Linked DNA regions of Homo sapiens: region 2 is linked to region 1. The links are contacts of gene promoters, found by promoter capture Hi-C in human tissues and cell types (Jung and others, 2019). All regions are on one chromosome and are shown on one strand. Each heading gives the region's core, a stretch centred on a gene start or on the middle of the fragment in contact. The rest is flanking DNA. Distances are from core to core; before and after follow the strand shown.

Region 1 (3,143 bases), core at 258-2,757:
TTTTAAACTTAAGAGGAAATGACAGGTAATTCTATTAGAAAAATGGTGTATGTATTTTTACTTACTAATGCAAAGTTTAACAATTACCACTTCATGTATTAAAAGATACTAACTATGGGGCTTGTTGTCACTTACCTTCAGGTTTACTCTCGCAGTTAAAACCTCGGCTTCCTCCATAACAAGTACAAACCAACGCATTGCCTAGGTAGGTCCGCTCCCACTGTTGATTTATCTGATAGTGTTTTCCATTGTCATAACAACCGGCTGCAAATAATTGAAGGAAAACGTTACATTTGCATTTCTCCTTTTCCCAAAATTATGGAATTTTCTTCATGTGAATATTGACGTACATATTTTTTTCCTTTTAACTTTGCTAAAAGTTATATACAATGATGTCATTTCCATCTGGCCAGGGGTCTACATAAAAAAGTTGGAAACATTTTGGAAGGCAGACAATTGAAGTCACATTTTTAAAACATGCAAGGAACTTAAATATTCTTTTGGAGTAATAGTCAAAAAGGACAACTTTAAGCAGCTTTCTCAAAGCAAAAGGAGGGTGTGTCTTTGAAAAACGGAAAGAATTCCAACCTCTGTTCTTGGTGAAGTATCCTGAGCGGCCCTAAAGAGGTCTGAACCAATTACATCTCTTCCAAGTTAGTTAGAAACAAGACAGCTATTTCAATACCCCCTTTCCACCCCCATGTTGAAAATATTTGACCAATTATTTAACAGAAGGAAATAAGTAGCAGTAAGGACCACACTAATCCCAGACGGAAAATTTATAGACATGCATCATTTTTCTCTTTAAAGGCAAGTTTTGGTTAATTCCTAGAAGGACAATCTGAACGTGCAGAATTTATTAGAACACGGGAAAGTCGCAGAGTCCTCGTCCTCCAATGCACGGTCTTATCATCCCAGGCCCTCAGAACCAGCGTGCTCAAAACTCGGTCCTTTTGTGTGCACAGCTGGTTTCTCTCAGTAAAGCGCGCACACACTCGCACACACGCGCGCGCACAAAACTTCAGCCCCAACTTTGGTCGGCTTTAGGGTCCCATCCCTGAGGCAGCCTGTTTCAGCCCGCGGTCAGTACTCACGCTTGCTTTGACTGACAGCCACCGGGGACTGGGGCTGAACCATTTGCTGAGCCTGCCTCTTGCTCTTCGAGGCTCCCGTGGAGGGCACCGCTGTCCCCAGGCACTGGACGGCCAGCAGCAGCAGCCCGGGCCCCGGACCCCTAAGCATGTTGAGACGGTGGGGGAGAGACGCCCGCACCGGGAGGCAAGTTGCCACCAAGTTTGCTTCCCTTCGCAACCTGCGGGAAAAATCCCTTCTAATGCCTCCCGGGGGTTGTCGCCTCCAAGAAGGTGGGGGCCAGAGGGTGGGGAAGGGGACGGGTGGAGGGACAGAAGGGATGCAGAGGACCAGAGAAGTTGTGGCTGCAGGTCCCCTCTTCCCGCTCGCGCCTGGGGTTCCCTCTCCTCCCCCTGTGCAGCACAGCCGGCGCGGGCGTCCGAGCGCCGGGAGCCGGGGCTTATATGGGACGGTCCCCTCCCGCCCCTCTGGAGGCCCGGGGCGCGGGGGAGGAGAGACCCGCCGGGCTGTCCCCGCCCCGCCCCACCCCACCCGCCCGCCCGCCCGCCGGCCGCCGCAGCCGACCGCGCGCCGATTGGCCCGGGCTCCGGGTGACGTCACGGGGGACTGTGGGTTCGCAGCGAACAAAAGAGATGCTGATGGCCCGCCAGGACTGGGGCAAGACAACTTTTTTTCGGTTTCCTTTGCGGTCATCAAACTTTTTAGGGGATGGGGGAAGGGATGGGAAGCGGCTGGGAGGAAAGGGAGTGGCTGGACTTGTGTGAAGCGAAGGGGTTGCAAGACGCTCCCCCTTCCCTTTTCTTTTTTATTGGGGGTGGTGGTAGTGTTTGAGGACATTGCGTCACCTCTCTTCGGGGTGGAGGGGGGGAATCTCTGCTTATAGGAGTGTATTTTGTGAGGAAGAAAACCCATAAAATATCCACGACCTTGCAGCTGTTAAGAATCCAGACTTTTCAGTCCCAGGGCGGGGCTGCCTTTCCCCCCATCCCGCTCCCTTTCTTTGGACTAAAGGGTACTGACTCGGGACTCCCTTATTTTGTCTTCACAGCTCCCTGTTCGGACTTCTTCCCTTCTCAGCGCTGTGCCTGTCTGGCTCTGAGAAAGGGCCAGCGGGCGAACGGGGAGCAAAGGGGAACAGAGACCTTTAATGAGCTTCTACTAAGTACCGGGAGTTCCGCGGGGCGCTTTGCAGATCCCGGGGAAGTTCAGAGAATGAAGTTTTCTTTTGCAAGGACAAAGTAACAGTTTACTTTTTTACACATGCAGGAAAGCCTTCCTTTCCTGGGGATGGGACGCCCGTTTCCACTGAAAGTGAAATCACTGTGAACAACCTGAAAATTGGAAAGTTGGACCAGCTGTGGGGAGAGAAAGGTCTTCGTGTCCTTTCCCACGTTCACCGTGCCAGTTACACACAAAGCAGAGATTTTTTTGCTTGAATCATTAAAAGCCGGGTGGGTGGGGGGCACCCTATGTACTGTCTTGCCCTCCTTCGGCCCCTTTCTCACATTTATTTGCCATTTTCTTTTTGCTGACAAGTTCCATTACAGAATGCCCCCTCCATCCCCCGCCGCCAGATTTTTTATATTTCAATTGTTATTTACTCCAAGAGTGTGGAAAGTTCTCCTTTAAGATTCCCCCGCCTTGAACTCTAAACTCAGAGTGGAAAGGGAATCTGAAAAGTCTCTCATTTAGCAACACATCACATCAGTCCTTTTTGTCAGATAAACACAGGCACAATTGCTTTTAAAGATCTTCAGAAGGAGGAGTCCACCACTTCCACAGTAGATCCAGAGAGACCCGAACTGAATGCTTTGCCTTCTCCTTGTGTTAGGAGTTCAGAGGTTCCATTTGCTTTAAAACACAAGAAGCTACTAATAAAATATATTTATTTCGGCAAGGTACCTATTTTCTCCAAAAGTTTCACCTTCAGTAATTGCCACAGGAGTAATTAGAACTCTGTGTTCTATAAAATGCCTGACACATTAAAGACACAAAATTAGCATTTGTTTTTATTCATGCAAGGATTTAAAACCAAACCAAAACAAAGCAAA
Region 2 (2,761 bases), core at 217-2,716, 270 kb after region 1:
TTGGACATGAGCAAGTGGGCCAGGAACTGAGTTGTATTCATCTTCCACAAATATTTACTCAATGCCTATAATGTGGTGTCAGGAATTGAGAGGGGAAAGACCAAAATTGTTCTTCAATAATAGAGCAAAAAGAATTTGGAGTTCTTGAATGCAACTTGGAAGGGAAAGAATGAGGAAGATGAAACAGAGCCAACACAGGATGGGAAAGTTCAGGATGCTGCCTAGGCCAGGAGTGCTGGTGATAACATCCCTAGAGGTAGAAAGGCCAGAAGCTCTTTCTGAGCGGCAGCAGCAAATTTTAAGTTGCTTTCATTTTTAAGATATAAATGCTTCTATATCTGCAAACTTTAATACTACTGCATTTGTGGGATCAGCCTGTGTTTAAACCAAGGAAAAGTGCTGAATTTCAATTTCATGTCTCCACTGAGCCACTGTGGAGAGAAGACAACCCAATCAGCATGGTGGAAAGTTTTCTCACACAGCACACATGCAGTAGAAGCAGAATGCTGGAATCAGAGGTAAGCACAAAAGCATAAGACACCTATGAATTCACAAAATTCTGAAGAAGGAATTGGGCATTTAAAAGTTTTATTAAAAAGCATTTAAGTCATGCAAAAAAATAAAAGGATAAATACAATAAATTTCCAGGTACACACACCAGCCAGCCTAAGAAACACATTATCAATATATTTGAAGCTCCCTGTGTTTCTTCAATATTGTTTCCCTCCCACCCCACTCTAGATATAACCCCCATCTTCAATTTGATGTTTGTCACCCCCAAAGGCATTGGATGTCCCACAAATAGCAAAATGAAGTTCAGTTCAATCTTGTCTATGTCTAAGGCAATTCTGACATGTGGTTTATGAATACATAATTTGTGCATCCCTGATGCCATGCAGCTATTTGGTATATAATATGTTCAAATCAGATAATAAATACACATCAACACATTTACACACACACACACACACACACACACACCTTTACGTAAAGCATTTATACATAAAAACGTAGTTATAAATATAATATACGTAAATATCTTGACTATTTCAAGGTATTCAAGCTATCTGAGATTTATTCAATTCTATTTCATTTTAACAACTAAACACAAATCAATACATTATCTGTTTTTATAAAAACAGTCTTCTTGGGGCTTAAAAAATTTAAATATGTAATATACTCTGTGATTTCCCTGAAAGCCACAAACCAATTTTCTTCTCAGCACTAGGCACCCAATTACAACATTTAAAATTAAAAGTTCAAGTTACTGTGGGTTTTCTGCTCAGTTGCAATTAATTTTGAAACTTATGTTTAGAAGGACATGTTTTTCTCAAATCTCAATGTTTTCTCAAAAACAATGAATAATTGTATAAGCACGATTATTCACTGTTTGAGGTAATCTAAGACACCGTTTTTCTTTGTAAACATTGAATACTTTTATTAGCAGATATCACATTTAGAATATTGGGCTGAAGGACAGGAAACATGCGAAATTCATATATTCTCAAGTTTGTCCAGAGTGTTTGGAGAAAAGTACTTAATTCTCTTTCTTTTAGAAGATAATACCAGCAACCAATGAACTGTATCTTTAAACACTAAAGCGGGAAGTAAGCTATGTCCTTATCTGAGGAACGTGTGTTGCGTGATTGCTGATAAACACAGTGCTGTTTCTGGAGGTGATTTGCAAAGTCAGAGCTATATGCACCCATAAAGCATCACTGCATTCAAAGGAATCTGAACAGCCAAGCTCCAAAAGGAAGGGGAACTTCATCCCGGCTGTCTCTGCTGCAACATGGTGGAGCATGTAAAGTCTTACAAACTCACCCCAGTTAGGAAACTGATGAACACTTGAGGGACTACGGAACATTCGGTACTGCGCTAGGGATCCTGAGAACCACAGACATATTAAGCAGGCATGATCTTTCCATAAGACACTCTTAGGGCCATTGGAGGAAATAAGGCACCTATAAAGGAGAGAGCCATCTTTGAGGTTGAAATGGTCAGGCAAGGCGTAGGCTTTAGGGTCTGTTTTAGTCTGTTCCTGTTCTCAAATATTTTATTATAGTAGCAGGACCAGACTGAGACAGACTCCAAACCCAAAGAACATAAATTTGGCCTGACACGGTGGCTCACACCTGCAATCCAAACACTTTGGGAGACCAAGGCGGGAGGATCACTTGAGCCCAGGAGTTTGAGGCTGCAGTGAGCTGTGATTGTGCCATTGCACACCAGCCTAGGTGACAGAGCAAGACCCTGTCTATAAATAAATAAATAAACAAACAGAAATTTATTACCCACAGTTCTGAAGGCTGGGAAGTCTAAAATCAAGGCACTAGTAGATTTGGTGTCTAGTGAGGACTCATTATCTACTTCATAGATGGCTCCTTCTTGCTGGGACCTCACACGACAGAAAGGGTGAACAAGTGCCACGGAGTTTCTTTGGTAAGTGCACTCATCCCATTTTTGAGCTCATGACCTAATCGCCTCCTAAAGACTCCATCTCTTTAATACTGTTGCACTGGAAATTAGGTTTCAACATATAAATTTTGAACCAATATTCAGACCATAACAGGTTCTCCAAAATATTAAGGGAGAAAATAGGACATTAATGTAGGATTTCAGGGTGGATTACTTTTAGGTAGAGATAAGAATCACTATATACAAAAGCATGATGTTTGTGTCAGGAAAGGATAAATAGATTTGCCTGGCTGGAATAAAGGATTCTTGTAGGGCAGTAGAGAAAAATAGGTAGAATGGGAAA

The links. Contacts are between HindIII fragments. The study calls those that stand out against the background at their distance.
Region 2: a contact is called between a fragment that was not itself captured here and the fragment with the promoter of FN1 in region 1, in 1 of the 25 tissues and cell types used here (IMR-90 fibroblasts).

The regions. Positions count from the first base shown.
Region 1 is chr2:215,434,561-215,437,703 of GRCh38, forward strand. FN1 (fibronectin 1) reads right to left here and starts at 1,508. Exons shown (of 46, transcript NM_212482.4): 1 at 1,095-1,508; 2 at 136-264. The coding sequence starts at 1,242. FN1-DT (FN1 divergent transcript) reads left to right here and starts at 1,131. Exons shown (of 2, transcript NR_187198.1): 1 at 1,131-1,749; 2 at 2,359-3,143. RefSeq lists an enhancer at 1-19 and silencers at 1,532-1,591, 1,602-1,691. The HindIII fragment of the contact is 6,677 bases long and covers 1-3,143 here.
Region 2 is chr2:215,706,132-215,708,892 of GRCh38, forward strand. The region is part of intron 5 of LINC00607 (long intergenic non-protein coding RNA 607); the gene reads right to left. The region is part of intron 7 of LOC102724861 (a long non-coding RNA gene); the gene reads left to right. Among named protein-coding and RNA genes, the nearest start is that of LINC01614, 11 kb to the right of the region's middle. The HindIII fragment of the contact is 7,643 bases long and covers 1-2,761 here.